4 separate regions of the Homo sapiens genome follow, and regions 2, 3 and 4 are each linked to region 1. Evidence: promoter capture Hi-C in human tissues and cell types (Jung and others, 2019). All regions are on one chromosome and are shown on one strand. The core of a region is centred on a gene start or on the middle of the fragment in contact, and the rest is flanking DNA. Distances in the headings are between cores, read along the strand shown.

Evidence for each region. The method cuts DNA at HindIII sites, captures the fragments that hold promoters and counts their contacts. A contact is called where the count stands out against the background at its distance.
Region 2: a contact is called between a fragment that was not itself captured here and the fragment with the promoter of MRPS6 in region 1, in 1 of the 25 tissues and cell types used here (heart left ventricle).
Region 3: a fragment that was not itself captured here is called in contact with the fragment with the promoter of MRPS6 in region 1 in 2 of the 25 tissues and cell types used here (aorta and liver).
Region 4: a fragment that was not itself captured here is called in contact with the fragment with the promoter of MRPS6 in region 1 in 2 of the 25 tissues and cell types used here (IMR-90 fibroblasts and lymphoblastoid cells).

What each region holds. Positions count from the first base shown.
Region 1 is chr21:34,069,072-34,075,345 of GRCh38, forward strand. It overlaps MRPS6 (mitochondrial ribosomal protein S6), which reads left to right and starts at 4,507. Exons shown (of 3, transcript NM_032476.4): 1 at 4,507-4,674. The coding sequence starts at 4,630. It overlaps SLC5A3 (solute carrier family 5 member 3), which reads left to right and starts at 4,507. Exons shown (of 2, transcript NM_006933.7): 1 at 4,507-4,674. RefSeq lists silencers at 3,955-4,474, 4,765-5,164 and an enhancer at 4,418-5,368. The HindIII fragment of the contact is 15,607 bases long and covers 1-6,274 here.
Region 2 is chr21:34,622,771-34,629,819 of GRCh38, forward strand. No RefSeq gene overlaps it. Among named protein-coding and RNA genes, the nearest start is that of RCAN1, 11 kb to the left of the region's middle. The HindIII fragment of the contact is 3,113 bases long and covers 423-3,535 here.
Region 3 is chr21:33,361,078-33,368,236 of GRCh38, forward strand. No RefSeq gene overlaps it. Among named protein-coding and RNA genes, the nearest start is that of IFNGR2, 39 kb to the right of the region's middle. RefSeq lists a silencer at 146-440 and enhancers at 5,326-6,525, 5,476-6,177, 6,178-6,879. The HindIII fragment of the contact is 4,809 bases long and covers 110-4,918 here.
Region 4 is chr21:34,660,207-34,666,910 of GRCh38, forward strand. No RefSeq gene overlaps it. Among named protein-coding and RNA genes, the nearest start is that of CLIC6, 5.4 kb to the right of the region's middle. The HindIII fragment of the contact is 6,731 bases long and covers 696-6,704 here.

The sequences.
Region 1 (6,274 bases), core at 3,257-5,756:
CTGCCCACCTGTACTGTTAGGGTAAACCGGGATTCTGGCAGGAAAGATCAGTTTAAGGCTGTTTAGAGCCAAACTCCAATGCACTTGGATCATGGGAACTCATGTTATGGGCAAGTCTTGCCTTAAATCCTTGCTGCTGAGACACCTCCTTGCTTTGCAGAACAGCGCATTCAGGGACAGAAGGGGAAAAAGGAGCCAGACACAGGGACCAAGGAGACAAAGGAAAACCCCAAGAGTACAGGATCATGGATGGCCAAGAAGAGACCCTCAGGACTGCAGAGAGGTCCCTGACGATGATGCCAGGGAAACTACTTGGTGGACAAATGGAAGGCCAGTGGTGACAGTGTGAGGGAACACAGAGTGCAAAGGCTGGAAGATGCAGTGGGTCTGGGGATATGTGGCTGTGAGAAGAAGAAAAGAATGACAACTTGAGAGGGTAACAGGGTTATGACGAGGTTTTTCTTCCCCCTAGCTAGAAGAGACCTATATATGCTTCATGGCAGCAGGAAGAAGTCTGTGCAAGGGGAGAATTTGGCCACTTAAGGGAGGGCATTATATGGGTGCAAGGAGTGGGAGACTGCCATCACCCAGGGAAGAGGACAGAGTAGGACTACAATAAAAGTTGGTTGATCGACAGATAGTTGCTCAGTTTGCGCTGGCTGGTAAACATAATGCTGTATGGTATTGGGGTTAAGCGTGCAGGCTCTGAGTTCTGCATAATTTGGGGCAAGTTGCTGAGATGTTTATGAAGTCTCCTTTTCCCTATATGTAAAATGGGGGCAGTTATAATACATATCTTTGTGGTAAGAACTGAGAGTTAATACATGCAAATAATTTAAAATAGGTTCTGGTTCATAGTTAATGCTCAAAATGTTAGACTCAGTAATAAAAATAATGGCCATCTTTGAGGATTAACGATTGAAAGCTCAAGGTCAAGTCTCATTATACAGCAACATAAAAGAAGAAGGTAAAGGTGATTAAACTGACCCAGGGCATATCTTGAGGTTCCTTTTTTACAAATAGGGCTGGATTTCAACTTCTGTTCTTATTCTTCTTTCCTATTCCCCCTCAAAAAAACTTACTTGAAAATTAATCAAACTTCTGGTTAATCAAATCTTAAACACATACCATAATAAATGTTTTGGAGAATCTAAGAGAGTCATTTTTAAATTAATATATCAAATGCTGCAGTAATATATTTCTATTATGCTGACTATACATAGTATAAAGTTAAAAATTGTTTTGGTGAATTTAAGTTTGTAGTTATAGTAGGAAGACACTAAATTTGCAACAGCATTCCTCGTGATTTAAAAAAAATCTTTTTTTTTTTAAATGAAGCCACAAGCATTCTGCTTCTGTGCTTTTTTATTTTTTATTTAGTTTTTTGAGATGTAGTTTTGCTCTTGTTACCCAGGCTGCAGTGCAATGGCACGATCTTGGCTCACTGCAACCTCTGCCTCCCAGGTTCAAGCGATTCTCCTGTCTCAGCCTCCCAAGTAGCTGGGATTACAGGCACGTGCCATCATGCCCGGCTAATTTTGTATTTTTAGTAAAGACGGGGTTTCTCCATGTTGGTCAGGCTGGTCTCAAACTCCCGACCTCAGGTGATCCGCCCGCCTTGGCCTCCCAAAGTGCTGGGATCATAGGCGTGAGCCACCGTACCCGGCCGCTTCTGTGCTTGTTAAAAAAAGGTTGAAGGGGGAAAATCACAGTAGCTGCCCTCTCTCTGCTTTTAAGAAATGGAATGAGTCTGTGGGTGGCTACCAGACTGGGAGGGCTTGGGGATGCTGACTCTGTGGTGAGGTATTACGCAGTCAGGTTAATTTCCTTATACCACTTGTCAAGTTAGAAGGAGTAGAGAAGATGCCAGGTCTTCACTCATCCCTGGGCATTAAGGGAAAACTAAAGAGCTTCCAAGAGGAAATGCTCTGAGTTGAAGTCAGCTCATTGCGCCGCCTCAGTGTTTGACTTGGCATATTACTACGGGGTCTTTATTTTCTCATTACTAAACTGGGTCATGTAATTGACAAGACAGGGGACAGTCGGGGTGGGACCATTCTAGAAAATCTGTAACTGACTTTTTTTTTTTTAATGGAGTCTCGCTCTGTCGTCCAGGCTGGAGTGCAGTGGCGCGATTTCGGCTCACTGCAACCTCCGCCTCCTGGGTTCAAGCGATTCTTCTGCCTCAGCCTCCCGAGTAGCCGGGACTACAGGCAAGTGCCACCGCACCCAGCTGATTTTTGTATTTTTATTAGAGACAGGATTTCACGATGTTGCCCAGGCTGGTCTCAAACTCCTGACCTTAGGTGATCCACCCGCCTCAGCCTCCCAAAGTATTGGGATTACGGGCGTGGGCCACTGCACCCAGCCTGTAACTCACTTCTGAAGGTCCAGAAATTCCTTGTTTCCTTCTGTTATTTATAGTACGCTACTTATTTAAACCAAACATGAAGTTAATTGACACTTAGCCAGGCAATTTGGATTACCTGTGTGGCTTCACACAGGTATGGGTTGTAGACAAGTCTAAAAATAGAAAATGTTAAAATCCAGCTATCTCAGAAAAACTTGGGTTCATCTCCATCTCCTACCTCCCATATGTCACAAATAGACGCATGGGATGTGAAATGGTAACCTCTGGGTAAGGTGACAAAGGTACTCTAATCTTGGCTTACGTGGACTACACGGTTAATCCACTGAATAACAATCAGCATCTTCATCTGTGTGGTAGGAGAACCGGAGGTCAGAAGGGTAGAGGGGCGGCTAAAAGTACTTTGTTTCTATTACTGTATGACCTTGGACTAGTTACAAAACTTTTTGTGCCTACATTTCCTAATCCCTAATATGGGGTTAACAGTGCTTGCCTCTGTTTAAAAAAATTACTCAGTGATGCTTACTAAAGCATGGTAAGAAAGACTTTATTCAGGACCAACGCGATGGGTACAGGGATCAGGGAAACCCGGGGAGAGAGAGTGGGCTCCAATTCTGAATGCAGCGTCGGCAAGTAGAAATTTATGGCCATGTAAAATCACTAAGAGTAACCATCGGGGGAAGAGGGATTCTGGCTCAACCGATCTAAAGGATTCTTGTAGAACTCAGGCCAGGGTGAAAAGACATGACTGGGGGATAGAGGAAGATGAGGAACCTGATCTGCTATGAGGGGATGGGGGTTCTGTGCTAGAACTGGATTTTACAAGGAAGTGCACAGATGGGCCTAGCATGAGATTCAGAAGCCTGACTAAAGTTTGGCCAAGCAAAGAATCTTTGTCACCTCAGGGCTGTTGTGAGAATTTTAGGAGACACATCCACCAGCCTTGGCATGGGGCCTGATGCAGAGTAAGTGTTCACTAAACTTTACCTATTAACGTTAAAGCACTTTAAGTTGACAAACACTCCACGTACAGAGCTTTTAATGGGGCAAACAAGGGGCAGAGGCCTCAGCTGCAGGGTACTCAACCTCTAAGGAAGGGCGCTGGAGAAAACTGCACTTGCAGAGCCCCTGGCTGGAGGGCGGAGAACCATGTGGGTGTAAAGGGATGGCAAGGGCAGAACGTATGCCCCTGCCCACCTTAGACAGTTGCTAAAGGGTCTCCCAGGCACTCAGCCTAGCCTTTAAGTGAAAGCGGAGGAAACATTTAAAGAAATGAGATAGAGTTAAGGTGTTCGCCTGCCCTCCGCTGAAACACGTGGGGGCAGGTCAGGGGCACACCACAAATGCCCGTATCGCGCCTGTGTGTACCAGGCACCGTCCTCGGAGGTTAACGTGCAGTAACTCACTCGGGTCCCCACTTTCGGCACAGGCAGCAGGCCCAAGGTCACGCAGTGCCAAGGGACTGAGTCAGACCCGAGCCCGCGCGCCGCGGCCCACGGCCTGTGCCAGCGCGCTCCTCGCCGGGTAGGGGGCCTGGTCAGCCGCGTCAGACCTGAGAGTTGTGGCTGGGGGCGAGAGCTGCACCCCCCTACCGACCCCGGGCGGGAATGTTCCAGAACCCCTGCGAGCAGCCGTTGGCCGCACAGCCCCCGGGCCGGCCGCGACCCCGCCTTGCGCCGCGAAGGTCCCTAGCTCCGGGGAGTCGCGGGCGAGGGGCACGCGCACGGACGAGACCGCACCGCAGCGCACGCGCACTGGCGGGCACTCACTCGCCCGCCGCCCGGGAGGAGAAGGAAGGCATGGAAAGTTCCAGCCGGTTCGAGAGCTAGGTAGCAGGCATGGCAGGAGGCGGGGTAGGGGCAGGCAGGGTCGCGAGGGGGCGTGCGGCCGCCGCGAGCCGCTCTGGGCCGCGTCTGCAGCACCGCCCCTAGCCGCGGCCGGCGGGCTGGGCTGGGGTCGGGGCGGGGGCGGTGCGGCGGGTGCGGGGCTGCGGAGGGGGCGTGGCGGCCGCCCGCGGGCGGAGAGGGGGCGGGGCGGCGGCAAGGCGCGCGGGCGGGGCGGGGCGCGCCGAGGGGGCGTGGCGCGGCGTCTGCGCAGCTGCCAGCGCCTTTAAGCCCGGGCTCGCGCTCTCGGACCGTGCTTTCGCCGCCTGGGAGCCGTCCGGCGCAGCAGTTTCTAGGTCCCCACTGTCCCCGCCGTCCCGCCCCTTCGCGTCCCGGGAACCGGCTGGCTTCCGAGCCGCACTCGCCGATCCTCCAGGCATGCCCCGCTACGAGCTGGCTTTAATCCTGAAAGCCATGCAGCGGGTAAGTGACCTTCCCTCAGAGCCGGTCTTCCCGCGCGGGCGCCCCCGCTGCCGCTAGGCCGCCGTCCCCCGCGCGCCCTGGCCGCGGGACCCCGGGCCTTCCTGCACTCCTCGGAGGAGGCCGGGGCGGCGGGCGGGCGGCGGGCGTCCGCGGGAAGGGGGCGCGCGTGGGCCGGCCGGGCCCGGCCGCGTGCGCGCGGGAGGCGGGGGTGTGCCTGCGCGTGTGCGCGGTCCGGGAGGGTGTGCCTCGCAAGCGGCCCGCCGGGCGGGGGGCGGGGCGGACCGAGCGGGCCCCGACCCCGATCCCGGCGCCGGCCCGCGGGAGTCCAGTGGAAGGTCCGCGGGAGGACACGCGCGGGCGCCCAGCCCGACTCCGGCCCGTCCCCGCCAGTCGTGAAGCTGCCTCGTCGCCGGCCCCGCCGCCGCCGCCTGGTCCGTCCCGCTCCGCCGCCCGCCGGCTGCCGCCGACCGCCTCCGCTCTAGCGCCCGCCGGCCGCCCGGAACGTCCGCGCCCAATAAAGCGTTCCTCCAAAGCTTGTTTGTGCCGTTGTCTGTATTCCAGTCTCTTGCAATCGCTCTCATGTTAAAAAAAAATCTTTTGACTTTTCTTTTTCTGACTTCAGCGAAAATCCCGCTCCGGGTGCCCTTAGCCCAGTTTCATTCATCCAAGTTGTGGCCTTTCTTGCGCCTCCAGAAGACACTTTCTTCCCCCTGCTTTTGATTGATCTTGAGGTAGGGGATTTCAGGTTTGGAGGGATGCTAAGCGAACCAGCGGCCCCTTTCAGGTGACGGCGTGGCCAAGGACAGGGGCCCGCGGCCCGGAGGCAGCTCACTTCGTCCTCTGTCCTGGGTCATGTACTCCTCAAGTCGTCGCCGAAATCCCCATTCTCCCGTGAATTCGGAATTCGGTAACGTAGTTTGGTGTTATGTTTTTTTTTCTCCACCAGGTGTAATAAAACAAAAATCATTGTACCACGTCCGAACTTTGTAAGCACAGCTTCCTACAGCGCTAGAGGAGTGGACGCATTTTTACGTTTGAAATTAGGCTCCAGGTCAATTGCGAGGAGTATTACCAAGTTTGGTTGAACTTAAGCTCAATTGATAAACTAACAATCACGGAGCGTCGGGAGATTGTTAGGAAGTGTGCTTTGCATATTGTTAACTGGGAAGGGACGCCAGTGCCTCTCTATGAGGTCCAGACAGCCTGGCCAGGCATGCCATTGTGTCCCCCAGCTTGTTCTTCATGGATTTGGAAGAAGTTAAGATAGTATCTGTTCAGCCTCTTGAATATCCCTTTTGGCCCTCCTCCTTGCTTACCAGCATATGTAACTCCGAAAGGATAGGAGCAGTGAAAACAAAGCATTATTAAAAGGGAAGATTTTTAATTAGGTGGAAGTTGTTTAAGCCCTCCCTTCAACTTACGTGTTTTAGGGAATGTGGAACCTGGGAAATTCGTTACTGAAATTCCTTTTGTTTACTTTCCTTGTCTTGGGGAGGTAGCAGGTGACACTGAAAGAGGCAACCTGTAGGCAATAATATTTGCTCATTCTGTAACCCTTTGAAACCTTTGAAATGAAGACTTGCCCTCCCCTTTGTTTTTG
Region 2 (7,049 bases), core at 729-3,228, 550 kb after region 1:
GCAGTGGCATGATCTCTGCTCACTACAACCTCCGCCTCCCAGATTCAAGCAATTCTTCTGCTTTAGCCTCCCAAGTATCTGGAATTGCAGGCGCACACCACCATGCCCAGCTAATTTTTTATTTGTACTTTTAGTAGAGACGGGGTTTCGCCATGTTGGCCAGGCTGGTCTTGAACTCCTGACCTCCGGAGATCCATCTGCCTCAGCCTCCCAAAGTGCTGGGATTACAGGCGTGAGCCACCGTGCCCGGCCTATCTGCCATATTTAGAGAAAAGGAGGCATCAAGACTGACTCCAAGGCTACAGGAAGAAGCTGCCTCTAACCTGGATAAGGTAGACTGTGAGAGGGACAGGTTGGGGAACAGCTATCCTTAGCTTACTTTGGAGCAATTCAGGATTGAGAGACCCCTTAGAGGTGACAGTGGGGGGACAGGGCTCTAGATGGCATCTAAAGCCACTGGGCCACTGAGATCCCCTAGGGAGTGAGTGTAGCTGTTGACAAGAGAGTCTGGGGTCTGGACCAGGGGCACAGTGACACTCAGACACCAGCCAGCAGTGGTGCCTGAGAAGGGGGGTCAGAGAGGCTCAAGAGCCACCAGGCAGGTGGGGTATTCTGGAAGCCAACAACAGAAAGGGCTTCCCAGAGGAGGGAACCAGCGCTGCTGAAAGTCAGCTTGGGAAGAGCCCTCTGTGACTAGCGCTGCTGAGAGGTCAGCTTTGTGGGGACAGGGAACTGAGTTTGGATTTCCAAGTTTGGCAGTCCTTTTTGACCTTGGCAAGATAAATTTTGGAGAATTATTTAGAAGTAAAAGCCCAATTGGGAGCAGAAAAATGGAAGATAATGAGTGTAAGCAACTCTCTCAAGAAGTTGTGCTGTGAGGAGAACTGAGAAGTGAAATAGTACATGGAAGAGGAAGTGGGAGTGAGGGGAGGGTTTCGTTTGGTTGAAGATGGGAGAAGCCACCCCAGGCCTGTCTGCAGGTTGGGATGATCCAGGAGAGAGGAAAGCTTGATGACCGGGGCTGGGAGGGGGAGAGAATTTCTGCAGCCATCTCTATGGGAAAGAGAGAGCACCTGGTACATGAACAGAGAGGCGGGTCCCAGGTGGCAAAGCAAATCTGTCCATCGACACTGAAGGAAAGCAGCATGTACCACGGATACCCTGGGCATCAGTGCATGGGACGATGAAATATTGGGGCAGGGCTGGTGAAAGCCACTTGTGTTCATCTCCATCTTCTCAGTAAAAGAGGAGTCTGAGTGTGAGGATGAGGAAGGTGGCATTGAGTGTTGAAGGCAAGAGAAGAAAATGTGAAGTGATCTTCTAGGAATGTGGGAGAACAAATGGACTAGAAAAATATAGGAGGATTATATATGCACACCAATGTCATATGAGTATCAATGTCATATGAGTATCAAATATGTATACAACATGCAAATATATGTATATATATTAATGTTTACATGCAATTACGATATATACATATGTTAGTAGATATAAGCAAATATATTTATATGTCTTATGTATAATATGACACATGCTGCAACATAATTATAATCTATAGTATCTAATATGTACTAGATGGTATATGAATATATGTTCATACATCATACATGAATATAGCAATATAGGCAGATAAGATATGTTACAATGTATTATTAAATTGTGTATATTATATGATGTGCAATAAAAACACAAGTATTTATGACTTATCTGTCTCCTCCACTCTATCCAAAATATATGTAATGCACGTTATAAAACATAAAGAGAAATAGGAATTTTTAAAGTATAAGAATAGAGAAATAAACACAAATATAAATATGTCTTGAGCTGTCATCCTCATTTCATCTAGAGTGGAATCTTGATGAAGGGAAGCTGTTTATTTTCACTACCACTCTGCCCCGCCTAGAATGTCCTGGGCCTAGAGGGGGACTTCAATAAATATTTATTAAATGAATTAATGAAAAATGTATTTTATACTTGAACTTAACCAAAAGGCTGAGAAACGATGAAAAATATATCTTATTTATTCAGAATCAAAAATATTTTGTTTTCTTAAAAATCTCCTGTTATTCTCAATGACTTATTAACAATGTCTTAGTCAGTGTAATGTTATTAAACATGCCTCATCCTTTTGGGAAATCGTGGAGAACCATGAGCAGCATGGAGTGCTGTGCTTACTAAATCACAATATCCATTTTTCAATCCCATCCACCAAATTTAGAAGGGATTATTATTATCACCGAGTAAATTTCCATGCTCCTTGACATCAATGAGTTGTTTTTTCATATTAATTGGAAGTTGTTCGTTTTTATGTTTCACAAATGGGTTTTAAAACTCACAGAACCCCTTGGAAGCTTTTAGACAGCTGATAAAATTGTGTTTCCTAGTTTAAAGTGCAAGATATGAGAACTTTTATAGATGTCACACATCGTTTTTTGGCAATAAAATCACTTAATGATGGAAACCTTTCCAAACTCCTGTTTTCAAGATATTCTTACTGTAGCACAAGTTTCTGGCAGACAGTGATTACTTTCTCACACATTGTTAACTGGCATCTTGTGCTTGAAGGGCCAGGTCAAGCTGGTTTATTTATTTATGTTAAATCATCACCATGGCTCGAACCTTGTAACCTGGCTGGCAGTTGCTCATGCGCAGAGGGGAGATGTACCAGCTCTGTTCCTTTCTTGCCATTCATCTCTGCTTATGTCCTTAGAAATAGCTTCATACCTTAAGTTCTAGGGTACACGTGCACAGCGTATAATAATGATAATAATAAATAAATAAATAAGTAAAAAGAATCCTGAAAAAAAAAAAAAAAAGAAATAGCTTCATACCATTTCTTAGCAGGCATCCTTGCCAGACACTTGCCTGTTTGTGTGAGGACTGGCTCAGTTAAAGACTAGATAATATAAACCACACATTCTCTTAATGAAAATTTGGGATCTGCAATAACAGCACAATTCTGGAAGCAGAGAAGGTGTGTGGAGCCATGTCAGCCCACACCACCTGGCACCCCAGGTGCCCATCAGGGGGCCTAGTGCACCCCTCTGATGCCTGTCTGGCTTCTGCAGCAAGAGCAAGCACCAGGGTCAACCCACATAATAAAGCAGCAGAGGAATAATTTTCTTTTTTAGAAAAAAGAAAAACCTAATATAAACAGAAGCGCTAATATTTTTCACTCATCCCAGTGAGTGGAGGTCATCACCTTCCACCATGGAGACCTTGACCTATAGGGTGGATGAGCGGGGAATGGTGGGCAAAACTCCACCAAAGAGAGCTGCTTCCTCCCAGACTGTCTCGCTCTAACCCCTGGACTGCGACTTCAGGCTGAGGGGCTTTACCTAGGTCAGAAACACAGGCTAATTTCCCAAGAACACATCAAACACAACAGGTCAAAATGAAAGCCATCTTTCCCATCCAGTCTACTCACTCTGCTCTGTCCTGATTTCTACCCACAAGCTGCTCAGTAACCGGGGAAGAAACCCAGGAGCCCTGAAAACTGCTCCCTTTGTCTTATCCCCGACTCCCCCACCAACTGACCTGCTCGCCCACTCCACACAGCCAGTCGCCAAGTCCTGTCCACTTTCCCTGCTGAATCATCGTGCCGCATCAGCTGAGTTTACCCCCTCTCCTAGAGTCCCACTCCTGGTCTCTCAGCTCAGAACCATTTCTTTCTCTGCATCATTTCTTACGTGGATCACCTAAGCTGCTTCGAGACTGAATCTTTGCTTGAAGGCAGAGCTGATGACTTTGGAGCCTTCTTCATCCCGTGGTTGATCTGATTACCAGGAACTTTTCCCAGGACTAGGTATACAAACACAGATCATTCAATTCTCTAACAGATGAAGGCTGCGGTCCCCTATAAGATGCAGTCCATCATATGATGCCCTCTTAATTACTTTTATGACATGCAGCAATCATACTTCATTAGAACTCTTCTCTTTCTTCTCCACTAAACTGTGAGCCTCCTGAGGACAGGAACTGTGCTGGTTTCCTTGTACACAGCATGATGCCAGGCACACAGTAGACATTTGATACTTGTGGTATCAAATGTGTGTGTCATTTGAGAAGAGGCATCTTCTTATAATTTTTTTTTTAAAAGAGATGGGGCCTCTCTCTCTTTCCCAGGCTGGAGTACAGTGGTGCAATCTTGGCTCACTGCAGCCTCGAACTTCTGATCTCTAGCAATCCTTCTGCCTCAGCCTCCCAAAATGCTGGGATTGCAGGCATGAGCCACCATGCCCAGCCACCTTCTTATAATTATATGTGCACCCCCAACCTCAAGCACTTGACAGCTGACTGCTGAAGGAATGAATGGATGAATGAAGGAATAAATGGATGATTGCCAACAGCCCTCAAATAAACAGAAGAGCAGGTTTTATAAGGCTGCTTCTCAGAGTTTCCATAAATGCCAGCTCAGGGAACATTAACCCAAGTCCCATTTGTTACATGAAAGCAGTTCTGAGGTAGCTGACAGTGCCATCCTCCATCTGGCTTAATTCAGGAATAAATTTACTCTACAATAATGGTTGGACTGTATACATTTCAGACAACCTTCCATGAGTATGGAGGTTGCCATTGAGATGTCCATCTGTCCTCCACCTTAGGGAGCACTAAAGAGACCCTAAAAGTTGGTCTCTTTGTTTTACATTCTAATCACTTTCCTCAAATTCACATTGATTTTTCCAATGCTTGTATAGCTTTTTGTGGAGCAAGCTTTTTTTTTGTTTTTTTGTTTGTTTGTTTGTTTGTTTGTTTTGAGACAGAGTCTCACTCTATCACCCAGGCTGGAGTGCAGTGGTGCAGTCTTGGCTCTCTGCAACCTTCACCTCCCGGGTTCAAGCAGTTCTCATGCCTCAGCCTCTCTAGTAGCTGGGACTACATACAAGTTTGAGCCACCACGCTTGGCTACTTTTTGGATTTTCTTTTCTTTTCTTTTCTTTTTTTTTGAGACAGAGTCTCACTCTGTCGCCAGGCTGCAGTGCTGTGGCACGATCTCGGCTCAATGCAACCTCTGACTCCCTGGTTCAAGTGATTCTCCTGCCTCGGCCTCCCAAGTAGCTGGGATTACAGGCACGTGCCACCACACCCAGCTAATTTGTGTATTTTTTGTAGAGATGGGATTGCACCACATTACCCAGGTTGGTCTTGATCTCCCAACCTCGTATCTGCCCACCTCGGCCTCCCAAAGTGCTAGGATTACAGGCATGAGCGACTGCGCCCAGCCATTTTTGGATTTTTTTACTAGACACAGGGTTTAGCCGTGTTGCCCAGGCTTAAACTCCTGTCCTCAAGTGATCTGCTCGCCTTGGCCTCCCAATGTGCTAGGATTATAGGCTTGCGGGATTACCTGGCCTGCAAGTATATTTTTGAAACCACCTTACTGAGGTACAACTGACATACACTAAACATATTAAAACTGTACAATGTGATGTTTCGAGAGAGTGAGCATATCCTTCCTCCTGCAAGTATCTTCCTGCTTCTATGTAATTCCTCCCATCCCCACCTCCACTCCCACTGTACCCCAATCTGTTTCCTGTCACTATTGATAAGTTGAGCAAGTATATATTTAATCTTTAAGAGCTTCCTCGCTTTCTGTTCCCTTTTCATAAATTTCCTGCTTTTTAAAGTATTGCTTTATTATCTTATATCTCTCTGGAGTTTTAATTTGATTAAAATATTTTTTGGTCCCCGGAGTTATTCTCTGCAGCCTCCAAAACAGTCTTACTAGTTTATTTGTCTGGTCTGTCTCATTTAGCTTGCATTCTCCTTGCATGTCTGTGGAGCCTTTATTTATCTAAGGACACTAGGTAGCTAACATGCATTTCCTTTGCTATTGAATAAGATTGTTTCCCCAAGGTGAGTGGCAGCTCTAAGCAAGGAAGGATGGAGTAAAGCGCCTGTCTGGCTGTAGTGAGGGAGACAGTGAGTCAGCTGTCAGCCTGTGGACCCCCAAAATGCCAATGAGGGCATATCTGAGACAGGGTAATTTATAAAGGGAAGAGGTTTAATGGACTCACAGTTCCACATGGCTGGGGAGGCCTCACAATCATGGTGGAAAGCAAAGGAGGAGCAAAGTCACATCTTACATGGTGGCAGGCAAGAGGGCTTCACTTGGGATGCAGCATTGACGAAGAATGTCATAGCTTCTGGCAGACGTTTGTTCCATTCATTGGAAGAGCCATCTGGGATTTTGCCTGATTCTGTATGCTGTATATACACATGTATATGTGTGTATATATATGTGTTTATGTGTGTATTATGTGCACATGTGCATGTGTGCATATCTGCAGCATGCATGCTTGTATATGTGTAGTGTGTGTATCTAGGTATACACTGTATGTATGGAAGGCAAATATATTGTATGATGGAAGGCAAAGGAGGAGCAAAGTCACATCTTACATGGTGGCAAGCAAGAGAAAGCATGTGCGAGGGAACTCCCCTTTATAAAACCATCAGATCTCATGAGACTTATTCATTATCACAAGAACAGTATGAGGGAAACCACCCCCATGATTCAACTGTCTCCCACCGGGTCCCTTTTATGACATGTGGGGATTATTACAATTCAAGATGAGATCTGGGTGGGGACCCAGAGCCAAACCATATCACCCCCTCCTACAATGTGGAAGCACCACTGCCATTTTATTTTATAAACATAAATGTTTTTCCTTCTGCTACCACCATGCACCTGTTTTTTATTAGCTGTGGCCAGAAGACAGTTGAAGTTGTAGGTTATTTTCTGCTCTAAACATAGACTCTTTATGCAGCAAGTTGGAGGCAGATCCATTTCTTTGCTGATACCGTGGCCTCCCTTATTACAATGGAAGGGCCCTTTGCAGGATCCCTGTGGCCACCTCACTTTTATGTCAGGAACAATCAAGTTTCCTTAGAAAACAGCTGGATCCCCAATGTTGCAGATGATGTTTTGATGAAAATGTTCAAGGCATTCTTTTCCTTTAGCCAACTTCCTTGATAAAACTTTCCCAGTAAACATAGTCTTACCATATGATCCAGCAATTGCATCCCTTGGTATTTACCCAAATGAG
Region 3 (7,159 bases), core at 1,264-3,763, 710 kb before region 1:
CAGGTGGTTTCTTAAAGTTCTGTTTGTGATTATCTCGTCTTGAGCAAATGAGGAAAGGATGTGAAGAATCTGGTGTCCCCATGATCTCACCCAGAAATGGTTTGGTAGTTACAAAGCAAGATAGAGCAGTTGAGCAAATACTTAGCCCATCTAGTCCTCTACCACTACCACCTTCGCCTTTTAATGAGCAGGACTTTGTAGTAAGCGAGTTGTTGAAAAGGAGCTCCACATACTTAGTAACAGCCTCGGAGCGGATGGAAAGAAGTAGGCATTGCTGCAGAGCTGAGATGAACCTGCAAGGAGACAGCCTTGGCCCCAGGGAATGATCACTGCACTGCGCCCCCTACTGGCCTGGCTGAGATGACTAGCTGTGATTCCCTCCTTAGTCTCACCTGTTGAAGATGGCGCAGAACAGTTACAGCCATGATCAAAAAAGATAATTAATACTTTAGTGTCTCCTGCCCTATCCGCCCCCAGGGAGAGGCCAGACCATTCAGGGTGCCAGCTGGAGGTTATAAGGGTGGAGTGTGGAGACAGTGTTTCGTGTCACTACTTCCTTTTTTTTTTTTTTTTTTTTTTTTTTTGAGACAGAGTTTTGCTCTTGTCGCCCAGGCTGGAGTGCGGTGGGGCGATCTCGGCTCACTCCAACTTTCACCTCCCAGGTTCAAGCAATTCTCCTGCCTCAGCCTGCTGAATAGCTGGGATTACAGGCGCCTGCCACCACGCCCAACTAATTTTTCTATTTTTAGTAGAGAGCTTCCTGATAGCTGAACATGCAGAGGCTGCTGGGAAGGGCATAGAATCTCTGCAGTCCTTCTCACATACCTTATCCTATGTATCTCTTCATCTGTATCCTTTGTAATAGCCTTCATAATAAACCGGTAAACATAAGTTAGTGTTTCCTCTAGTTCTGTTAGGCAATCTAGCAAATCAGTTGAACACAAGGAGGGGGCCATGGGACCCTCAATTTATAGTCATTCAGTCATAACAGGTAAAACCTGGGGCTTGCAATTGGCATCGGAAATAAGGGGGCAGTCTTGTGGGAATGAGCTCTCAACCTGTGAGATTGAAGCAGCATGGTTGTCTGGGGTAATACGTGTGGTTTGTTGCCCCACGCCAAGGAAATCGAGGATGGGGACACAAAAGGAGTGGGTTCAAGAGCGGAAGTTTAGCAGGCAAAAGAAAGAAGAGACCTTCCCTGTGCAGAGGAAGGAGTCCCGAACAGGTTTCCGGGTTTACAGCGAGATGCGGTTGCTTTTATAGATGAGCTTGAGGAAGCGGTGTCTTATTTACGTAGGGCACAGAGGATTGGTTGGACCAGGTGTTCCATTTACATAGCACAGGAAGAGGCTGGCCATCCCACCCTCATCTGTTATTATGCAAATGGCACCTCTACCTAGCCCAGGCCTTGTTGCCTGCTTTTTTACTGCACACGTGGCAACAAAGAAAAGGGAAAAGGGAACTTCAATATTGAATATACCTGACTTCCAAGTATCCCTTTCCTATTGGCACAGCTGCTGGCATTCGCCTATGCAAGCTTCCAGTTTGCTTATCTATGTTTGCAGCTTGAGTTTTCAGGCTCTTTTTGTTAGAAAAGAAATGATTTGGGGCTTCTTTTTATTAAAAGGCAAACCTTACTGAGGACTCTTTTATCCTCACTAACTGCCTAAATAAATTTTGTTTAGGTGTTGTATCAGGATCTGATGCTATCTCCAGGTAGACAGTGTCAGAATTAAATAGGAGGATACCCAACCAGTGTCTGCTGCAGAATTGATTGCCTTCTTGTTAATGGGGAGAAATCACTACGCATTTGGTCACAGAAGTCTTCTGTGTTTATTGTTGTGGCATGAGAGCAGAGGAAAAACGGTTTGAGATTTTTCCCCTCAAAAACATAGGGGAAATCTTCATGATATTGGACTTGGCAATGATTTATTGGCTATGACACCAAAAGCACAGACAACAAAAACAAAAGTAGACAAATGGGACTACATCAAACTTAAAAACTTCTGCATATAAAAGGAAATAATCAATGGAAAAGACAACCTTTGGAATTGGAAAAATTATTTGCAAAATATTTGCTTTGATAGATTAGCAGATAAAATGTGGTGTTCACATGCCACGGAATATTATTCAGCCTTTAAAAAGAAGGAAATTCTGAGGCCGGGCGTGGTGGCTCACGCCTGTAATCCCAGGACTTTGGGAGGCCGAGGCGGGCAGATCACGAGGTCAGGAGATCGAGACCATCCTGGCTAACACGGTGAAACCCCGTCTCTACTAAAAATACAAAAAATTAGCCGGGCGTGGTGGAGGGTGCCTGTAGTCCCAGCTACTCGGGAGGCTGAGGCAGGAGAATGGCGTGAACCCGGGAGGCGGAGCTTGCAGTGAGCCGAGATCGCACCACTGCACTCCAGCCTGGGCGACAAAGTGAGACTCCGTCTCAAAAAAAAAAAAAAAAAAAAAAAAGGAAATTCTGTCATGTGCTACAACATAGGTGAAGCTTGAGGACATTATGTATGCTATGTGAAATAGGCCAGCAACAAAAATATAAATACCATGTGATTCTACTTACATGAGGTTTCTAAAGCAATCTAATTTCTAGAGACAGAAATTAGACCGATGATTGCTGGCGGCTCAAGGAAGGGGAAAATGGAGAGTTGTTCAGTGGCTATAAAGCTTCAGTTTTTCAAGATGAAAAAGTTCTGAAAATAGGTAATACTACTGAATTGTATGTGTAAAATGGTTAAGATAGTAATTTTTTTTTTTTTAAGAGACAGGGTTTCACTCTGTTGTCCAGACTGGCCTCAAACTTCTATCTCAAGCGATCCTTCCGCCTCAGCATCTGGAGTAGCTGGGACTATAGGTGTGCACCACCACACCCAGCTTTAAAAAGGTCACTATTTTACTTATTTATTTTTAATTAGGGCAGACTTAACAGTAAGTGATTCATCCTTGGTTTCTGATACATTATTTCCTCCTTTTTCTAAAGGAAGTCTGCTCTCTGCCATTATTTTATCTGCCCAGAATACAAGTATAGTAACGTCTTATTACAAGCTATACAAATCCTTTTTCAAAGTGAGTGTGCAGACTGGGCTTGGCGGCTCACGCTTGTAATCCCAGCAATTTGGGAGGCTGAGGTGGGTGAATCACTTGAGGCCAGGAGTTTGAGATCAGCCTGGCCAACATGATGAAACCCCATCTCTACTAAAAGTACAAAAATTAGCGGGGCATGGTGGCACACACCTATAATCCCAGGTACTCGGGAGGCTGAGGCAGGAGAATCACTCGAACCCGGGAGGCAGAGGTTGCAGTGAGCCGGGAGTGCACCACTGCACTCCAGCCTGGGCAACAAAGTGAGACTCTGTCGTGAGTGTGCAGTTCATCACGTAGGCTTGTGTTGATGTCAACATAAGGCAAGTACTTCCTCATTGCTCTACATCAGTGAAGAAATGTGAACACCAAGGTTTAGACTGAGAAGTAGGGCAGGGAGATTGGATGGAGGTAAACTTTAAACATTTCATGTCTTAATTTCTGCTTGTTTACCCCCAAGAGAATTTTATAAATCCATTTATTTCTTCATGTTTTAATTAACATCTAAAATATTTCCTGACACGTTTAAATAGTTGCAAAAGAAATACTTTACAGTAAGTTGTAAATATTCACATTTTAAAATAAACTTGCTTTATCGCTCTTATAAATGCATTCAATGGAATCTCCTATCAAAGCAATTTGATACCCATCATTGTCTACTTTGAAATTACAGAAACTCGGCCAGACATGGCGGCTCACTCCTGTAATCCCAGCACTTTGGGAGGCCGAGGCGAGAGGATTGTTTGAGTCCAAGAGTTCAAAACCATCCTGGACAACATAGTGAGACGACCTTGTCTCTACAAAAAAATGAACAGAATTAGCCAGGTGTGGTGGTGTGTGCCTGCAATTCTAGCTACTTGGGAAGCTGAGGTAGGAGGATCTCTTGAGCCCTGGAGGTCAAGGTATAGTGAGCCAACATTGTGCCACTGCACTCCAGCCTGGGCAACAGAGCAAGACCCTGTCTCAGAAATATTTTTTTAAAAATTTTTTTAAAAAGAAACTCCAGAAACTGTTCTTTATGGGTTCTGAAACTTTACACCATTTCCTTTCCTCCTTGAATTCATATTCTTATTCCCACAAAAGTTCATCTTCATGCAGTAGATTTATTGATCATCTATCGTATATCTTTGCAACAAAAAAGTATATAAATTGATATATTTCTTTTTATATGATCATAGTCTCTGAATGTTAAAAAGAAAAAAATCTGGTTGGGTGCGGTGGCTCATGCTTGTAATCCCAGCACTTTGGGAGGCCGAGGTGGGTGGATCACGAGGTCAGTAGTTCAAGACCAGCCTGGCCAAATGGTGAAACCCCGTCTCTACTAAAAATACAAAAATTAGCTGGGCACGGTGGCAGGAGCCTGTAATCCCAGCTACTCAGGAGGCTGAGGCAGAAGAATCACTTGAACCCTGGTGACAGAGGTTGCAGTGAGCCAAGATCAAGCCACTGCACTCTAGCCTGGGGGACAGAGTGAGACTCCATCTCAAAAAAAAAAAGAAAGAAAGAAAAATAGCTTTTCTGGATTATTATTGCAATTATTAGTATACAGTTGATCAAATATTTCATAACCTTTGATAAATAATTTTTCAGCATAAAAAGTCCAATTTCACTGGAAATGCATCTCTTTTATTTATTTACTTATTTATTTATTTTGAGACAGAGTCTCGCTCTGTCACCCAGGGCTGGAGTGCAGTGGTGCTATCTCAGCTTGCTGCAACCTCTGCCTCCTGGGTTCATGCGATTCTCCTGCCTCAGCCTCTCGAGCAAGTGGGATTACAAGTGCATGCCACCATGCCTGGCTAATTTTTTGGATTTTTAGTAGAGACAGGGTTTCACCATATTGGCCAGGCTGGTCTTGAACTCCTGGCCTCAAGTGATCTGCCTGCCTCAGCCTCCCAAAGTGCTGGGATTACAGGCATGATCCACCACACCCTGCCTGGAAATACATCTCTTAATTAACTGGATGGAGCTTCTTCCCTCTTCCTTCAATGCCTGCAGGTGTCACAGATGAACATGCCTTCTTGCCACATGGAGACAGGACCTAGTGCCTCTGCTGCTCCTGTTTTCCATGTTTTGGGGTGAGGCTTTGTGATGGGCTTGGAAGGAATCCCAAAGTGTCACCTCCACTCGAGTCTTTGGATTCTTTCTGATTTATAGGTCAAAAGCTATTTAGTGAACATTTATCAAAAATTATCTCTATCTAGTTGCTGAGCATGATATGAAAGGAAAATAAAAACTCGGGACTCCAATTCACTCTGCCAAAAGAAAAAAACTAAGCTGAAAGCTGAGTCATGCAAGAAGCTGCCTTTCCTTTTGTTCCTAAGCAGAGAGCTAGAGGTAAAGGTAAGTGTCTTGGGGGGGATATTTAACCTACTCTGTGTTCACCTTATCTTCTGTAAAGTGCTGATTTTCTGAGCATACAAGGAATACATAATTGAAATTGACTATTCCCCTACCTGCTCCTTTTCTCTTGCAACTTGTGGATTCGATAATGTGACCATACCCTCCTTCTTTCCATACCAGCCTGTTTTTTCCCTTATATTGAAGCCCTCAAAATCATCTTTGGAGAAAGGCACAGACCTGTCTCCTGGGCATTGTCCTTAACCTTGGCAAAGTAAACTTCTCAATTGAGACCTGTCTCAGATACTTTTCAGTTTACAATCAACAGCAGCTAACATTGACTGGGCGTGGTGGCTCACTCCTGTAATCTCAACACTTTGGGAGGCCGAGGCAGGTGGATCGTTTGAGCCCAGGAGTTTGAGACCAGACTGGGCAACATGGTAAAAACCCTCTCTACAAAAAATACAAAAAAGTAGCTGGGCGTGGTGGTGCACACCTGAGTCCCAGCTACTCAGGAGGCTGAGGTAGGAGAATCACTTGAGCCCAGGAGGTGCATGTTGCAATGAGCCAAGATCAAGCAACTGCATTCCAGCCTGAGTGACAGATTGAGACCCTGTCTCAAACAAAAAGAAAAAGAAAAGAAAAGAAAAAACCCAGCAGCTAACATTATAAAAACAGAAACTGCCAAACATTATACATCTCCTGATGGACAGATCAGGAGTAGTCTTGAAAAAACCCATTGTTAGGAATGATAAATTCCTCTTCAAAGGGTTTAATTGTGTAAAGTTCTTGCTCTTTGTTCAGAAGCCCAACCTCCTTGTACTCTCATTTCTAGCCTGCAAACAACTCTTCCGCTCTGATTGTGCCCTGACATGCCCAGACATGTTCAGACATGCCTTGTACTCTAACAGACAAACTACTCCTACCCCATCCTTCTCTTAACTGCACGTTTGCCATATTTAGAGAAAGTTTAAGTCTTATCCAGTTGGGTTAGTTTAGATTGTGCGGTCCAACTCCAACCAATGGGGAAAGGACACAGGAACAGAAGCTGCATGCGGGGTAAAAACCCTTCTCTCCTTTGTTCGGTGTGCTCTTGCAAGCAGATGGACACAGGCAGCACTCTTCTGCAGAAGTAAATGTGCCTTGCTGAGAAATTTTCTGTCTAAGTGCTGGTTTTTCTTTGCAGCACTGAGTGCTTGTTTCTAACACCATCCTGACCTGGCCTTAGATCGAATTGCCAACTTATAGAAAATACAGGGGACAAAGAAACAGGTTACATGATACTGTACAGATGCAAATTCCAGACTATGAGCAAGTCTGTATGACAAAAGGGCTGGTTTCATTAACAAATCAATTGCAAGGAAAAAGAGGGAGAGCTTATCTCTTTTCTTTTCTTTTCTTTTCTTTTCTTTTCTTTTCTTTTTTCTTTTCTTTTCTCTTCTTTTCTTTTTTGAGACAGAGTTTCGCTCTGTCGCCCAGGCTGGAGTGCAGTGGCACAATCTCAGCTCACTGCAATCTCTGCCTCCTGGATTCAAGCGATTCTCCTGCCTCAGCCTCCCAAGTAGCTGGGATTACAGGCACCCACCACCATGCCCAGCTAATTTTTGTATTTTAGTAGAGACGGGGTTTCACCATGTTGGCCAGGCTGGTCTTGAACTCCTGACCTCAGGTGATTCTCCCACTTCAGCCTCCCAAAGCGTTTGGATTACAGGCATGAGCCACCACACCCAGC
Region 4 (6,704 bases), core at 2,811-5,310, 590 kb after region 1:
ACCCAACCTGCTGCCACCACTACAGGTGGCACTCACTCGCACATGCCACCTGCAAGCCTGGGGACTGGCTTGCCCAGCCTGTCCCAGCCACTATCAACACCAGCACGGACCATGTGAGAGCCAGATGATTGTCCCACCACTGCTACTGCCACTGCCCACACCATGCCCACTGCTCAAGAACCTGAGGATCTGTCCACCTACCTGGCCTACCACTGCCACTTCTGCCACCCAAACAAGCCTCCTAGAGGCTCAAGAACTGGTTCACTTGGACCTGCTAACACCAGTGCTAGTGTATCCTGCCCTGAGGCTCAAGGACAAGCATGCTCAGTCCACTGCTGTCATCAATGCACTGGTACCCAAGGACTGGCTCATTTGATGTTCCTGTCCCCAGCAAAACACTTCACCATAGGCTTTACTAACACCACAGTCTAAGCCACTGAGGAAATCAAAGATGGCACAGATTCTGTTTACAACTGAAGAAATCATATGGAGAGTATACTACTGCACACACCAAGAATCAAAGCCAAAGTGCTGTGTGCTACTCAACCAATACCACAGATATATCTTTAGCAAAAAAATCCTCTCCTATTATAACAAGTTCAAAAAATTGAAAGAAGCAACCACTACACCAGATGTGCAGATATCAATGTAAGGACATAAGAAACATGAAAAAACAAGAAAATATGGTAACTCCAGAGGAAGACATTAATACTCCAGCAACAGATTCCAATGAAAAAGAAATATATGAAATCCCAGGGGAAGAGTTCAAAATAATGATATTAAAGAAGCTCAGTAAGCTACAGGAGAACACAGAAAAACAATGCAAGGAAATGAAAAAAAACAATTCAGGGTATGAGTAAGAAATTTGCCAAAGAGATAGATATCATAAAAAAGAACCAAACAGAAATTCTTGAACTGAAGAATTTACTGAATGAAATATAAAATACAATCAAAAGTTCAAGAATAGACTATATCAAACAGAAAGAATTTTAGAACTTGAAAACAGGTGTTTTGAAATAACCCAGTCAGACAAAAATAAAGAAAAAGAATAAGAGAATAAACAAAGCCTATGTGACATATGGGACACCATAAAGTTATGAAATATTAAAATTTTTGGTGTCCCAGAATGCAATGAGACAATGAAAGGGACAGAAAATTTATTTAATGAAATTATAGCTAAAAAATTCAACAGAATTAGACATCCAGATACAGAAAGCTCAGAGATTCCCAAATAGATACAATTCAAAAAGGTCTTCATGGCACATTATCATCAAACTGTCAAAAGGCAAAGACAAAGACAGAATTCTAAGACCATCAAGAAAAATGTATAAAGTTACTTATAAGGGAATTCCCCTTAGACTAACAGTGTATTTGTCAGCAGAAACCTTACGGGCCAGGAGAGAATGAGACGCTATATTCCAAGTGCTGATAACAACCAAACTACCCAATTTGCCAGCTAAGGATACTATTCCCAGCAAAGTTATCCTTCTTAAATGAAGGAGAAATAAAGTCTTTCCCAGACAAGCAAAAGCTGAGGGAATTCATCACCACTAGACTGGTCCTACAAGAAATGCTTCAGGGAGCCCTATATCTGGAAATGAAAAGATAATATCTACCATCATGAAAACACATGAAAGTATAGAACCCACTGGTAGAGCAGACACACAAGTGGGAAGAAAAAGGACTCAAATGTTACCACTACAGAACACCACCAAACCACAATGATGAATAATAAGAGATAAATAAAGGAACAAAGTATATACAAGACAACCAGAAATCAATTAATAAAATGACAGGAATAAGACTTCACATATCAATAATAATATTAAATGTAAGTGGATTAACTTTCCACTTAAAAGATATAGACTGGCTGAATAAATAAAAAACAAACACAAGCCAACTATATGTCACCTACAAGAAACTCATCTCACCTGTAAAAACACAAATAGACTGAAAGTAATGTGATGGAAAAAGATATTCCATGCAAACAGAAACCAAAATCAAGCAGCAGTAGCTATACTCATATCAGATGAAACAGACTTTACGTCAAAAACGCAAAAAGAGATGAAGAAGGTTGTTATATAATGATAAAGGGATAAATTCAGCAAGAGGATATAACAATTATAAACATATATGTATTAACACCAGAAAACCCACATATATAAAGCAAATATTATGAGATCTAAAGGCAGAGATAGACTTCAGTACAGTAATAGTTGCAGACTTCAACACCCCAGTATCAGCATTATACAGATCATCTAGACAGAAAATTAGCTAAGAAACATTGGATTTAAACTGGCTAAGAACTCAAAAGCACAAACAACAAAACCAAAGACAAATGGGCTATATTAAACTAAAACGTTTCTGTACAGCAAGGGGAATAATCAACAGAGTGAAAAGACATTGTGTCAAATCAGAGAAAATATAAACTATCATTTGATAAGGGACTAATATCCAGAATATACAGGAAACTCAAAAAACTCAACAGTAAAAAACCAAATAATACAATAAAAAAAGTGGGCAAAGGACATGAATAGACATTTCTCAAAAGAAGACATACAAATGACCAACAGGTATATGAAAAAATGCTCAACGTCATTAATCCTCAGGAAAATGCATATCAAAATGACAATGAGATACCATCTTACTCCAGTTAAAATGGCTATTACTAAAAGACAAAAAAATCAGATGCTGATAAAGATGTGGTGAAAAGGGCACTGTTGGTGAGAGTGTAAATTAGTACAGCCACTATGGAAAACAGAATGGAGATTACCAAAAAACTAATAATAGAACTACTATATGATCCAGCAATCTCACTAAATGGTTATTTATCCAAAGGAAAAGAAATCAGTATAAAAAAGGGATGCCTGCACCCCCATGTTTATGGTGGCACTATTTACAGTAGCCAAGATATGGAATCAACCTGTGTCCATCAACAGAGGAATGGATAAGGCAAGTGTGGTATATATATATACACACAATGGAATATTATGTGGCTATAAAAAGAATGAAATTATGTCATTTGCAGCAACACAAATGGAACTGAAGGTCACTATGAAGGTCATTATGTTAAGGTCAAAATGTTGTATGTTCTCACTCCTATGTGGGAGCTAAAATGGTTGGTCTCATGGAGGTAGAGAGTAGAATGATAGATACCAGAGGCTGCAAAGGGAGTGTGGGTGAGTAGGACGATGAAGAGAAGTAGGCTAATGGGTACAAACATACAGTTAGATAGAAGGAATAAGCTTTAATGTGTGGTAGCACAGTAGGGTGACTATAGTTAAGTTAACAACAATATATTGTCTATTTCAAAATAACAAAGAGAGAGGACCTGAACTGGTCCCAACACATAGAAATGATAAATACTTTAGGTAATGGATACCTTAAATACCCTGACTTGATCATTACACATTCTACGCATGTAATAAAATATCACATGTACTGCATAAATAATGTACAAATATGTATCAGTGAAACAACTGACAATGACAAGGTTCCTTTTATAACCCTCACTGTTCCAGATGAAAAACTGAATCAAGATCATATAGTTATTACGAGATAGGGCAGGGATTTAAATCAGACCATTTAATCCAAGAACCACCCATTTCACCATGATTGTCATGTGTGTCAGTTCCATGTAATGTTCTTACTGACCTGCAAGATGATGTGTACGTGCTTCAGGATCTACTGACTAGCAGGCTTTGAAATCCCTGCCTCCTAGTACAACCTATTCTGCAGTGACACTCTTCTTTTAACTGAAATGTACCTTACCAAGTAACTGAAGAAAGCCAGCCAGATTAAGAAGCGGGTTTGGGGCCACTTGTAGGTAAGTGAGTGCAACTGTTTGAGGAGAATTCCAGGCAAGGAGAAACTTTACTCAGCTCTAAGTGTATCCTGTGATCTAAATGTTACAGATACATTATAATCCCACGGGCTCTTCTGAAAGGAGCAGATACCTGCTAGAGAAAGAGCAGATTTCTATGGAGATGAGGCCATTCCTTCTGGAAAAGCAACAAAAGCAACAAACCCTTACATTGTTTATAAGCCCTTAAGGTTTTCTTGTAATCCGAGTTTACCTGCTTCATGATTCCTTATAATATATGGCAGAAGGACTGTATAATTATTAAAAGTTACTTAAATATCAACGCTTTCATTTCTTGTCATCCACCTCTGAATCTGTCACCTCTGTTTAACCCTCCCTGGTATTTAAATAGCTAATCTAGTGTTGGAGGCCAGGTTAACAACGTGCACGTCTCTAAGTGACTTCATAGCGACCTTCACACGTCTATTTATTTGGTATTTCCTTTGTGTTCCTTTATATGAACTGACTGAGCCCTTGCTAATAATTAAAAGAATTTGCTAAAGTATTCTTTTGGCAAAGTCAGTAGATAAGAATTTCTGTAAGTGGCTCATGCCTGTAATCCCAGCACTTTGGGAGGCCGAGGCGGGTGGATCACGAGGTCAGGAGATCGAGACCATCCTGGCTAACACGGTGAAACCCTGTCTCTACTAAAAATACAAAAAATTAGCCGGGCGTGGTGGAGGGCACCTGTAGTCCCAGCTACTCGGGAGGCTGAGGCAGGAGAATGGCATGAACCCAGGAGACGGAGCTTGCAGTGAGCCGAGATAGCACCACTGCCGTCTGGCCTGGGCAAAAGAGTGAGACTCCGTCTCAAAAAAAAAAAAAAGAATTTCTGTGAATAGTGTGTCTTGTGACATTAGCTTGCCCACCAAAGTATAAAACTAACTGAGAAAAGTATTTTCCAAAACTAGTTCAGGTTGGTGCATATGTATTTGAAGGCACGTGTGTATTCACTCATTCAGGAAATATTTATGGAGCTCTACTATGTGCCTGGTCTATCCTAGGCAATGACAAGCAAAAACCCCTGCTTTCACAGAATCACCATCCTAGTGGGGTGAGGTAGGGCAGACAGATAACAACTAGAATATATTATGTGTCAGATGAAGATAACTGCTATGGGGGAAAATAAGGCAGAGAAGGATGCCAGAGAGTAGGGGTTGTGTTTTAAAATGGAATGCTTGGGGCGGGCATGGTGGCTCATGCCTGTAATCCAAGTACTTTGGGAGGCCAAAGCAGGCGGATCACGAGGTCAAGAGATCGAGTCCATCCTGGCCAACATGGTGAAACCCCATCACTACTAAAAAAAATACAAAAATTAGCTGGATGTGGTGCCATGCGCCTGTAGTCCCAGATACTCGGGAGGCTGAGGCAGGAGGATCACTTGAACCTGGGAGCTGGAGGCTTCAGTGAGCCGAGATCACACCACTGCACTCTAGCCATTTTATAAAAGTAAAATGGAGTGCTTGGGGAAAATAATTAATCAGAGACTGCAGCAAGGTAAGGGAGTAAGCCATGAGAATATAGGGGGCATCCCAGGCAGAGGCCCAGCAAGTTCTAGGGACGGCAAGCAGGCTGGTGTTTTAGGGGCTGCAGAAGTCTAGTAAGCCAGAAAGAGACTGGGATTGCCTGATTTTATAGGACCTTATACTTCATGCATAAAGACTTGACTTTTTCTTACTGTGAGACAGAAAACCTTTGAAAGATTTTGAGCATAAAAGTGGCATGGTCTGATTCATGATTTCCAAAGAGGATCAGCTGGCTGTGGAGTGGAGAGCAGACTGTCGAAGGCCAGGAACTAGTTAGGAGGTGGTGGCAATAATCTAGGTGACAGGAGGTGATGGTGACTTGGACTGGTACAGTGGTAATGGAGATAGAGAGAAGAGGTTGGATTTTACGTGTGTGAGTGTGTGTGTGTGTGTGTGTGTGTTTGTGTACTTTCTAGTGATGGCATCTCACTATGCTGCTTCCAAGCTGGTCTAGAACTCCTGGGCGCAAGTGATTCTCCTGCTTCAGCCTCCCGAGTAGCTGGGACTACAGGTGCACCACCATGCCTGGCTTTGGGTATATATTTTTAAAAAGTGAAGCCAGTTGGATTTACTGGCAGGTTGGATGTAGGGTTTGGAAGAAAAGAGCTAAGGTTTTCAGTTTGGGCATGTCTGTGCACACGTTGGCATATGTGTCTACATAAAGCTTAATGTTATCCAAAATTATCTCATTTCTTTTTTTACTTATTTTATTTTTATTTTTTTTTTGCTTTATACCATTTGAAGAGGGACCTTCCCAGTCTTGTTTATTGCTGTATATCCAGTGTCTGGAACAATCTGTCTCTTTCTCTTTCTCTCTTAAAAGAAAGTATTTAGCTATCGGTAATGTGGTTACAGAAAAATTGTAAGGAGCTGTTATTTTCTGTCTTCTGCATTTTCAGCATTGAGCCTGCATTTATTTAAAAACAAACTTTATTTAATTTCAGAAGATTGAACAAATTTGCAAAATTATATAATAGAAAATTTTAAAATGCTTATTATCATTAAGTGAAAAATTCTACATTCTGCAGACAGAATGTTATTTTGAGAGCCAATGTTAATGTGAGTAAATGACCCCAAACCCTATAAAAGAATAAATCCAAACCCTATAAGATCAAATAGCCTTGTGTGATCCACAGGATCAGTTTCCAGGACAGAATAGACTTTATTAGCATTGTTTTTCTGCAAGGACATTATTCAGGCCAGTTCTCAGCCACTCAGCCAACAGCTTTGTTTCCGACTGTGCCAAGTCTGCAAACAGTAGCTGATCATCTTTAGCTCAATTCAAAAGGAGGTTTTTCTAGATATTCCAACCACAC